2 separate regions of the Homo sapiens genome follow, and region 2 is linked to region 1. Evidence: promoter capture Hi-C in human tissues and cell types (Jung and others, 2019). All regions are on one chromosome and are shown on one strand. Each heading gives the region's core, a stretch centred on a gene start or on the middle of the fragment in contact. The rest is flanking DNA. Distances are from core to core; before and after follow the strand shown.

Region 1 (5,716 bases), core at 1,039-3,538:
TCTGTGCTTGGTGGAGTGGGCAGTGGGCCCAGGCTCCCCACAGTCCCAGGGTCCCAGGACTTCCCTCAGCTCTGTCCTCACTGCTCCCCCACTGCCAGCCAGACGCTATTTGTGAAGCCACCTTGGTGGAGCCTTTGGCCAGGTTGGACGGCTCCAGAGGAAATGTTCTATTGGTGCCCACACCTTTGCCCAGGCGCCACAATTCCTGTCTGGCCTCCCCTGCCCCAAACCAGCCCCTAATTCGCTGCTCTGCTGCCCACTGAAAGACCACTCTGGCACTGGTGGGCCACAGGGGACTCCAACTTCAGCTGGGGAGAGGCAGGGCTGAAGAAGGGCAGGCTTGAGCAGGCTCCTTCCACCCAGACAAAGGTTGGCTGCTGCCCAAGTGAGATTCTGCCCACATCTCCACACCCGCACCCTTTCCTGTGGCCCACATTGAGGTATGAAGGTCTCCAGTAACCAGACTCTCCTCTACCTTGTTGGTTCCCCACCCAAACCTCCTGGCTGAAGCCCCTGTACCAGGGTGATTTTTCCAGTCCCAGAGAAGGGATTCTGCTCTGATCCAAGGTAGCCCCACCTGGCCAGACACTGGGCACCCCAGGGGAGAAAGGAATGAGTGAGGATGCAGACAGGAGATGGGTCTAGTGACGGAGGAGGGCAAAGGGCAGTTAGCAGTCTGGAGACAGTGAGTCACGCCAGTCTTCTCTGTGGAGAGACACCTGGGGTCTTGGGCCAAGGATTGACAATAGTGGTCTTGCCTTTGCCCCTTCACGGAGCCCATGGGCACGATGCTTGCATCCTGGGGGAGCCCTTGGTCCCACGCCTACTGAGCTGCAATGGACTTGAGAATGCAGTGAATTGTGTCTGTGTGGATTGGGCAGGGCCATCCACCAGGGCCTCTATGGGGCATGGAGAATGTCTTCCTCAGGCATTTGCTTCCCCTCACTCCCCAGTCCCCCACTCCCCCTTAGCACACATGCACAGCCCCCACCAGGAACAGGGTCTCTTTGTGGGCCTGATCTGCCCAGCTCCTCTGGAAGGCTCCTCAATAAACAAACCTTCCTTTATGGGGTGGTAGGTTTACTGGAGACGGGAAAAACAGCAGAGGAGGGGTGGAAGGCCCAACAGGAAGAGGTGGCTGCTGCTCACAGTTGGGGGTTTGGAAGCACTGGAGATGGCCCTAGGGGGCCTTTTGTGGGGCCAGGGCAGTCCCACTCCTTTTATATGTAAGAATCCTAGGAGGGCAGTGGTCGAGACTGGCAGCAGACAGGGATTAGGGTAGGGATGTGACAAGGCGAGGAAGGGAGGTGGCAGAGCTGCTCACCTTGGAGATAGCCAGAGGGACAGGGAACCTGGGGACGGGGGATGGTGCCAGCTGTGGCCCTGGCTCCTGGGGCCTCCAGGAAGGGAAGAAGGAACCAGGGCAGAGCCCACAGCCAGGAGCTCACCTTCTCCAGGTTGGTGTTGTCCAGCCAGAGGGTCTCCAGGTATCTGCCAAAGGACTGGAAGGCATTGTCCGGGATGCTTTTCAGGGGGTTGTGGGACAGCTTCAGCTCCTCCACCACCCGTAGCTTGCTCAGGGCAGCTGAGGGGTAGCTGGACAGCTGGTTCCTGTCCACGTGGAATTTGGCGAGGTTCTCCACGTCGTCCAGGGCCCCGGGCTGCAGGGAGCTCAACGCGTTTTCCGACAGGTAGAGCCAGCGCAGGTCCTTGGCTCCCTGGAAGGCGCCTGCGCGCAGCTCACGGATCTTGTTGTTGTTGAGCTGCAAGATGAAGAGGTTGACCAGCGGGGAGAGCAACCCCCGGGGCAGCTCAGTGACCTTGTTGTGGTCCAGGTAGAGGTAGGTCAGCTCGGTCAGGTCGTCGAAGGCACCTGCGCGCAGCACGCGGATGTCGTTATGGGACAGGTACAAGTAGATAAGTTGCTTGAGGCCGCGGAAGGCACCGGCGGCCACCTCGCGGATCTGGCAGTGCTGCAGGTGCAATGACACGAGGTTCGGCATGGCCCGGAACGAATTGGCAGCCAGCACCGGGAAGTTGTTGCGCTGTAGGTTGAGCAGCTTGGTCTTCTCTGACACCTTGGGGATCTTCTGCAGCCCCACCTTGTCGCAGATGACGTGCTGCAGGTCGCTGTGGCAGTGGCAGTTCTGGGGGCAGGCGGCCAGCGCCGGCAGCAGACCAGCCAGGAGGCCGAGGCTGAGCAAGAGCATTGGGCGGACCATGGCTGGGACGCCTGGGGCCGGGGCTGGGGGCAGCAGCGGCGGCGGGGCGCGGGCAGCGGCGAGTCCTAGGCGCTCGGGTCTGCCGCCCTCTTTATACGGTGGCCCTGACCGCAGCCGGCAGCCGAGCCAGCTCCTACGTGGAGCATCGAGGCCACTGGGCTTAACTCGCTCGCGCCCAGAGATGCGCCCCCGCCCTCCACGGGGAAGGGGGCGGGGCCGTTCCCCCAGCCGGCTACCGTGCATGAGGGGGTGGGACCGTGGCCCCCGAGCCCCGAGCCCTGAGCCCCGGCTGTAGCCCCCCGCTCTCCTATGGTGCTCCTCTGCCTACCGCCTTTCCCGGGGCTTTTCTGGGAAGGGGGAATAGTTATGTCTGGAGCCCCGAGTTTACATCGGAGAGAGGGAGGCGTTCCCTCAACTTATTTGTTTGCTCAGGTTTGAGCCTCCACGCCGCGCCATCCACACACGCTCGGCCGGGTGCCCTGGATGCGAGGCGGGAGGAAGCGGGGCCGGACAGCTGGATGCGTCTCCCTGCGGTGGGCCAGCTGCCTGCGCTTTAAAGGGGCGCTTGTGCGGCGCCTGCCGAGCGTGAGAGCCGCCCCGGCGTCGGTCTCCCACTTCAGACTCGACGCGCCGAAGCTGGCCCTGGGTAGACCCGAGCTCCTTCCCCACCCTCGGGCGCGCCCCCACCCCTCTCTTCCAACCCCGCTTGCGTTTCTGTCGCCGGCGCCCTCATCCCCTTTTTCCACCGCTGAAGGCTAAGCAGAGAAGTGGGAAGTGGGGGAGAGTGGCCCACAGGAATGGCAAACACACCTGGAAACCACAGGCCACAAGCACAGTCGCACCATCCCCCCTCCTTCATCGCCCCGAAATATCTCCATCCCTCATCCCCAACCCTAGTGGTCAGGACCCGCCCCTGAGGGGTCTCAGGGTGGCGGCTGAGTGGCGCCGAGGTGTACTTGGCAGATGCCACATTCGGGCGGTGGCCCCAGGACTGTGAGGAGGGGTGCGGGAGGGGGTGGGGCAGGTCGAGGGACCAGCCCTGGACGGCTCTGGCTGCCAGACCCTAAGTTCTGTGGGCAGTCCCGCCCCAGCCCGCCAGATTTCTGTGTGCCCACTTGCCAGCCACGATGTCCGGATTCCTGTGGAAAGGGGAGGGTGAGCAGGCAGGGTCACAGCTCTGGCCTCAGGGTGAGCTCCAAGCTGCCTGGCACAGGATATTGTCTGTGATGAGGGGTGGAAGGAGAAACCAGAACCCACATTGAACCAAACCCCAGCCGTGCCAGAGCCAGAGCAGCTGATATGGGGGAAGCTTGGTGCAGGGAGGAGGATGGATGAGATCTGGTATCCGTTGATTAAAGGGGACCTAGGATACGGGGTAACTAGCCTCTCTTCCCTTACCCAGTACCCTCGTGTTGGGGCCTGGTTTCCAGGGCCTGCCCTTTTCCCAAACCTCTCTGCCCCTTGCCTCTAGGATAGGAGGGTCATACTTGGCCTAGACCATTCCTTGATGGTATTTAGGCTTCTCCAAGGCTGGCTTCTGGTTTTTCTGTTGCTCAGGCTTTCCAACCACTGGAAATGGGGGAGGTGGGGTGGGGGTACCACTGGTTTTTAAAATCACTGCTTAGGTTGTTTTTTTATTTTGATGGAAATAAATTCACGGGAAACTCTCCAGAGCTTGGGGGACGCCTGCCCCAAGGCCAGGCACTTGTTCAGGGTTTGCAGAATGCGGGGGTGGGGTTGTGTCTGTGCCACTCCTAGCTGGGCCAAGGCAGGCTGGCTTTCTCATCAAGTTTATGGGGCCTTCAGCTTGGAAGGGAGGAGCCGGGGATGTGGCCTGAAATCAGGAAGGTGGGGTTAAGGCAGCCAGGGGATGGGGGGAGAAGTGTGGGGTGTTGGTAATACCGGAGCCACAGGCACAGACAGGTGGCTGCTCCAGGGAAACGGGGCACTGAGAGAGCTCCAGCTGGAAGAGAATGGTGTCCCTGCTCTCAATTTTCTTTCAGATCTGGGGCCCTGCAGAGATCTAGTCTGCTCACTCCCAGCACCTCTGCCTCCTGACCCCAGGCCCCTACCAATGATGTCTCTGTTTCCACCATTCGGCTGCCCTCCACTTTCCCTTTTCTTTTATGAATTCCTTCCCATTTCCTCAGATAGCTCACCTGATCCCTCTGCACGTGCTGAGCCCTCTTCAAACACCCTTTCTGGACCCTCTAGGTTGCTTATGGAACCACAGAGAACAGTCCCGTGACATTCGCGCACTTCCCTGAGGACACTGTGGAGCAGAAGGCAGAAAGCGTGGGCAGAATTATGCCTCACACGGAGGTGAGCCCCTGACCAAGACTCCAAAGTCCCACCTCCCGTCACCCAGCTGGGGTGCACCCAGCTGGGACATCGGTTGCTTTCAGTGAGAGAGTCAAATGGCTCACTCAGGATGCCTAGAGCCCCCCAGCAGCAGGGGTGTGCTAGGCCTGGCCCGGAGTGTTCTCTGTGGGCTAAGCATGAAAGGGGAAGAGCTGGAACAGTGGCTGTGAGCGGCTGCCAGCTGAACTTCTCCGCGGCCTCCCTTCCTGTCTGAGGTGTGTTTTTGCCAAGCCCACTGTCTGTTTCAGGGCAGCCAGGGTAGCCTCAAAGAGGAGCCAGAGCACAGAGAGTTTTCCTACACAGCTTCTTTTCCTCCAGTGGTGCTCGCCTCTCGCTTTAGCAGAGTTCTTCTTCTTGCTTGGCGTAAACACTTCATTTCCCAAGCAGCCTATCCCTTTGGGGCGGTCCCTTTGCCCCTCAAAGGTTGCCCCAGAGTGCACCTGAATCTCAAATGCCCAGCCATGCCTCCTTTCCTGCTCCAACACTGGGGCTGTGCCAGCTGGCTCCTGATTTCCCCTGCACCCTTCTGCTCCCGCCCCTGGGGGATCGCTGCCCCCGTGCACAAGCAGCTGCTTCCCCTGGGGCTGACCGCTGTCCTGGCGTGAATCTGCCCTGCCCTCCCGCCAGAGCAACCATGTACCCAGGGATTGAGTAGGGATGTGAGCCTCCTCCCGTGTGTGCTACAGCTGCACTGCCACTGTCACTAAGATGCCCACCTGGAAGGGAAACAGGGGCAGGCATCACTCACCCCATTTCACGGACACAGACACTGAGGCACACAGAGGCTCAGCTTTCCTTGGCACGGTGGCCGTGGCTCTTTTCTCTACCAGGCTTTCAGACTCTGTCTCTCCTGTTCACATGGTGTTGCCATGCCACCCTGTTTGGCTTATTTGCTGCTTAATGGGAAGTAAGAGGAGACTCCCTTCTCCTCTGCACGGTTTATAATTCTTCAGCTGGCTCTGCAGTCCACAAACCTCTTTCTTTGCAGCAGCTGCCTGCCCACTCTGTTTCCTCAGCCCTCCCAGCCTGGGACTCAGCTCTTCTTTCATGCCCAGCTCAGGTCTCTCACTGGCTTTGGGTCGACTCTAGCCTTTGTCTCCCTTCTCTGGATGGGGATAAGCAGAGCCAGGGGG
Region 2 (5,716 bases), core at 3,199-5,698, 300 kb before region 1:
GCCCGGGGCGGCGCGCTCCGCAGGCATCCCGCCCCCGACTCCCGCTCCGTCCCAACATCGCGCAGGCGCAAGACCGGGCTGGCGCCAGCGAACGCGCCCTCTCGTGGCGGACTGGCCAGGTCGCAGTCTTTGTTGTTGCGCTGGAGGCGGCGTACGGGACAGGGGAGAAAGATGTGGGTGGAGTCTGGGAGGCAGATGCGAGAATCAGATCACAATGACGAGAAGCCCTTTCCTTTGTCCCTCACGGCAACGTATAGATGCAGATAAAGAAAACACGGCCTCAGACCTCAAGAGACTTAGAGACAGGTGCACAGAAACTGAAGCTGAATGAGACACACTGGACAGCAGTCATTCGTTCATTCAGCAAACATTCACTGGGATGGGGAGATACAGGGACAAAGGACCAGAGGGCTTACATTTAGGCACTGGTGGGCAGAGACGGGGCAGAAAGCTGGAGAGACGGATGCGGATGTCAAAAAGGCCAGGACAGAGAAGCGACTAGCTCAGGACAGGGCTGGGCCGCAGGAGTGAGGCGGAGGCCGGGGAAGTACCGGCGGAGCCTAGGGCACGGCAAGGGCACCAGCTGTGCGAGGTGGGGTACGAGCCCCGACCCCTCCAGCTCTCCTGACCGACGCCCCAACTGGGGATGACAAAACGGAGAGCTAAAGATAGGCAATGTGAGCACCAGAAGGGACCCTAGTTGCAATGGACTGAAGCAGTCAGATAGGTGTAAACCATGTATCATCATTCTACTACTACCAAAGAAGCTCGGACTGGCCAGAGTTTGGAGGATGCTAGGGAAACAGCTCTTTATTCAGAAACTGTTTAATACAGGAAGAGTCCAGCGTTTCTCCCGTCTTCCTTTTACGAACTTTCCCACTCAGTAACCAAATCGCAAGGGGCAGTTTCTGTCTATAATTATTCCAGCTAATAAAGGAAGGGGTGATCAGAGTGATCAAATCTGAATATCACTATTCTGCACACACACAAAAAATAAAACGCTAATGGCGGAGGCAAGACACTACTAAGACCACAGAAACGCATGATGTGCCTTCAAATGGAAGAACACTGTCACCACCTATGAAGTGGTCTCAACGAAGGAAATTGAACATAAACCTTATAAGGCCTCTAGATCCAACTACAAATTACAGTAACAATGTACAGGAAATACAACGTACAGGAAGTATGGAGGTGGGAGGAACATGTTAAAGATCACCATAGAGATGCAATCAGCAAAATCCAGAGGGCAAAAAACTACAGAAGAAATTTTCTGGCTCCTTCAAGGAACGAGAAAGAGAAGGGAGGGAGGGAAGGAAGGAAGGAAGGAAGGAAGGAGAGGGAGGGAGGGAAGGAAGGAAGAAAGGAGGGAGGGAGGGAGGGAAGGAAGGAAGAAAGGAGGGAGGGAGGGAGAGAAGGAAGAAGAAGGAGGGAGGGAGGGAGAGAAGGAAGAAGAAGGAGGGAGGGAGGGAAGGAAGGAAGGAGGGAGGAAAGGAAGGAAAGTATGAAGGAAGGAAGGAAGGAAGGGAGGAAGGAAAAAAGAGAGAGAAAGGATGTATGGGAACCTATAGATTTGAAGAAATTTAAAAGAGCCTTGGCCAGGCACAGTGGCTCACGCCCGTAATCTCAGCACTTTGTGAGGCCAAGGTGGGTGGATCACTTGAGGTCAGGAGTTTGAGACCAGCCTGGCCAACATGGTGAAACCCCTGGGCATGGTGGCACGTGCCTGTAGGCTGAGGCAGGAGAATTGCTTGAATCTGGGAGGTGGAGGTGGCAGTGAGCCGAGATCATGGCACTGCACTCCAACCCGGGTGACAGAGCGAGACTCTGTCTCAAAAAAAAAAAAAAAAAAAGCCCTATAAATCATCAATCAGTTGCAATGTGTGTATCTTCTTTGTATCTTGAGTCAAACAAATACACTGTAAAAATATGTATGTTTATGAGAAATTGGTAATTTGAACACTAGAAGTTTGATATTAAGGAATTTTATTGATGATGTTAATAGCTGAACGTGTTATGTGATTATGTTAAAAAGAGTCATTATCATTTAAAGATACACACTGAAATATTGATGGATGAAATTAATCAGGAGGGGTACAGATGAAACTAGACTGGCCATGAGTTGATAATTGTTGAAGCCAGGTGACAGATACACGGGGGCTTATTATAGTATGCTGCAAATTTTTCAAACTAAGAAGTTTAAAGACCCTGTGACCTCCCTTCCCACCCCTAGGCCCAATAGACAGAAGGTGCTGTGTGTTACAAGCAGCAGGTTGCAATCCAGACAGCTCTGAGTGGGAAGGTCCTCTGATGGCTGAGGGGCCTGAGAAGGGTTTCTGGGGACTTTCTGGCTTGTGGGACAGTCCCTGGCTCCCTTGAATTGGGCAGGGAGGATCTGATGGGGAAGTAGCTGCAGCTTTTCATTAAGGAAGGCTGGCCTCTGTGGGCCTGGTGACACTGGGGCCAGGCACTGCTACCTTAAGACAGCTGAGTGGGTGGCTCCAAAAATAGCCAGGGGGACGGCAGGGGGCGGGGAGTCACATGGAGAAGCTCAGGGGTGAGGCTGGGCAGGTGCCCAGGGGGTTGGCACTTCTGCCTGCTCCCCCAGAACCCTTGGGCTCTTCCTCTGCCTCCAGAACCTTTCTTCCTCCCTCCCTCTGTCTCTGAGAAGACAGAGAGATGGCCAGGTGATGCTGGGACAAATACTGCCTTGCCTGAGGGGACGCTGACTCTGGAATTTGGTGGCTCTCCAGGGATGAGCGGGTCAGTCAGGTGGAGAGAGAGAGAGGAAGGGACAAGGACTGCGTAACCTGCCTACCAGTCACCCCATCTGCAGGCCAACACCTGTGCCCTTAGGCTGGACCCAAGTGATCCTTGCCTGGGGTATTTTGTTGTCCTTTTGAGGCCCTGGAGGAGAGGTCACACAGGCACCAAGGATTTGGGAACCCTGGCAGCCATAGGTCCCCGCCCCCTTCTCAGGGCACCTGGGGAGAGTGCCCCTGTGCCTGCCCTAAGTGAGAGACCTGGGGAGAGGACACCGCGCCCCATCGCCCCTGGACTGAGATCCTTTGGCAGAGGCAAGAAGGAAGGGGAAGCAGGGCCGGGCAAGTACATCAGCAGCACAGTCATCGACTGAGCCAGGCACTGGGCTAAGCCGTCCACATGCATTCTACTCATCAGCAATGTGGCCTTGGGGAAGGTATACACCCCTGTGCCTCAGTTTTATCATCTGTTAAATGGGCACAGTAATAATACCTGCCTCATGGAACTGCTGAGGAGATGGAATGAGGTAATATAGGTAGATATATGTAAGATTCTCAGCACAGTAGCTGGCAGCGCTAGCTGGTATTACCCACTGGCAGGTGACCTCCATGTGGGCAGAGGTTTGCTTATCTTTGCAATTTCAATGTCTGATACATAGCAGGTGTTTCATAAATATGCGCTGCATTCATTACTTTGTGGAGTCCTCACAATGATGCCAAGAGGCAAGCACTATTCTTGCCAGTTTATAGTTGTGGAAATGGGCTAGAGGGCAAATGGTGCACTCAAGGCCTCATCCCCAGCAAGTGGCCAAGGTGGCCCACCTCCAGGCCTCCAAGTCTATGCGCCGAATGAACCCTGACTCCATGGGCCAGAGAGGGTGCCTCCTCCGCTCACCTGTCTCTAGCTGGCTGGTCCTGTCCAGGGCTTGCTAGACCTCCACGCTGAAGTGCTTGGACTGGGGATAAAGGCTGGGTGGATGGCACCTACGTTTGCTGTTAAGGAAGCTGCCGCCAGCCAGCTACACCTACTAGTTACCAGGCCCTGTGCCAGGCCCAAGGATACAAACGTGACAAGATCCTAGTCTTCGAGGAGCTTGGAGCAGTCTGTGTGATTGTGTTGTGCCCAGGAAAGCACGCAGGGGCTAAGGGGACACCCAGCTTGGCCTAGCAGAAGAAGGGAGGTCAGAAAGGCTTCAGAGAGGAGAGGACATCTGTGCAGAGTCTGGAAAGGTGACTGGAAGGTTGCTGCTTGAATGAAGGTGGGAAGGGAACTGCAGGCAGAGGCAATAGCCTGGACGACGGCTTGGAGACTTGAGAGAGTCTGCCAAGCTAGGCAGGAGCGGAGTGAGGCTGAGCAGGGGCCTGGGGTTGGAAGGGTAGGGGCAGAGGATGGGATTCTAGACCAGCTGACCAGGTTCAGGACAGGCCAGAAAGCCACCAACTGGGGATGAGCTGGGAACTCAGGGGCCATGAGAACCATTAGAGTTTTAAGGGAGGATGGAGGTGGCCTGGTTGGTGGTTTAAAAAACACTGTGGCCACTGGAGGGGACGGTTGGAGGGACAATGAGTGCGAGGAGGGTGTCTATCCCAGATTTGGTGCATGCTCCAGGCGGGGAGGGGAGGCTGACGCTGGGACCCAGCTGCCCCGAGCCACCTCCCTCCTTCCCTCCTCTCCTCCCTGCCCCCTGTCTCTGTCACTCACCGGGCGGGCCAGGCCGGGCAGCCATGGCTGAGACACTCTTCTGGACTCCTCTCCTCGTGGGCAAGTTGGGGCCTTGTTCAGCGGGGAGGCCCAGGATGAGGGGGCAGGATTTAGGGGTGGTAAGACGGAGGTGTGGAGGGCCCACAGAAGAGGGATCTGGGTTGGGTGAGGCAGGCGCCAGAAGGGCTTTGGGGTGTTAATGCCATGGCCAGCTGGGGATCCAGGGAATGGGGCTGGGAGCTGGGCTCTGGGATGAAGGGGCTGGGAGCTCTGAGGGCTGGAGGTGTCCTAGGGCCCGGGTGGGTCTGACAGCACAGGCCCAAAGGGTCGTGGGCCCTTTAATGAGCTGGCTGGGCCGCAGCTTCTAAGCCCAGGCTAAATTTGGCCCTGGGAGGGAGGGTGGAGCTGGCGGCCAGGTCCTCTGCTCCTCTCTTGGACTTAGGATTCCTTTTGCTCAGCTCCTACTGGCCTCTAGGGCAGGCCTTCTTCTTCCCTGTATTTTAGGGGAGGAAGGTGGGGGTCTCCAGGCCCAGAATGGCTACCCTTCCTCCTCTGTAGGCTCCTGGCCCCGTCTTCCTCTCCTCTGGGCTCTTGGGCATTTAGCATGGGATTCTTTTCCCAGTGCCTTTCACACATACACACCCTCACACACACACACACCCACACACACCCTCACACACACCCTCACGGCACCCTCACACACACACCCTCACACACACCCTCACACACCCTCACACACCCTCACACACACACCCTCACACACCCTCACACACCCTCACACACACACCCTCACACACACCGTCACACACACACCCCACACACCGTCACACACACCCCCCACACACACCCCCACATACCCCCACATACCCCCACACACCCCCCGCAAACACACACCCCCCACACACACCTTCACACACACACACCCTCACACACACCCTCTCACACACACTCACTTGCACACACACCCTCACACACATCCTCACAGACCCTCACACATACCTTCACACACACACCCCCCCACATCCCCTCACACACACACACACCCTCACACACACACTTCCCAGTCAAACATCAGTCCCTGCCCACTGCACCATTAATAGGGGCCTAAAACAAGGAATGGAAAGGTTGTGGGAGAGGTTCTCCCTCGAATCCCGAAACCCAGACGATTAAAATGTCTAGCCCAGCAGGGCTTGCTCCCCCATCCCCACCCCAATCCCTTCCTGGGAGGCAGCAAAGGAAGCGCTTCTCTCGGTCC

Evidence for each region. Contacts are between HindIII fragments. The study calls those that stand out against the background at their distance.
Region 2: the fragment with the promoter of SGCA here is called in contact with the fragment with the promoter of CHAD in region 1 in 1 of the 25 tissues and cell types used here (IMR-90 fibroblasts).

Annotation. Positions count from the first base shown.
Region 1 is chr17:50,466,592-50,472,307 of GRCh38, forward strand. CHAD (chondroadherin) reads right to left here and starts at 2,289. Exons shown (of 4, transcript NM_001267.3): 1 at 1,449-2,289. The coding sequence starts at 2,222. It overlaps ACSF2 (acyl-CoA synthetase family member 2), which reads left to right. Exons shown (of 16, transcript NM_025149.6): 11 at 4,437-4,544. RefSeq lists enhancers at 1,246-2,204, 2,205-3,162. The HindIII fragment of the contact is 15,801 bases long and covers 1-5,463 here.
Region 2 is chr17:50,161,557-50,167,272 of GRCh38, forward strand. It overlaps SGCA (sarcoglycan alpha), which reads left to right and starts at 4,449. Exons shown (of 10, transcript NM_000023.4): 1 at 4,449-4,521. The coding sequence starts at 4,485. LOC105371818 (a long non-coding RNA gene) reads right to left here and starts at 4,801. Exons shown (of 4, transcript XR_934833.3): 1 at 4,462-4,801; 2 at 3,655-3,923. RefSeq lists enhancers at 1-226, 2,043-2,543 and a silencer at 1-176. The HindIII fragment of the contact is 20,868 bases long and covers 1-5,716 here.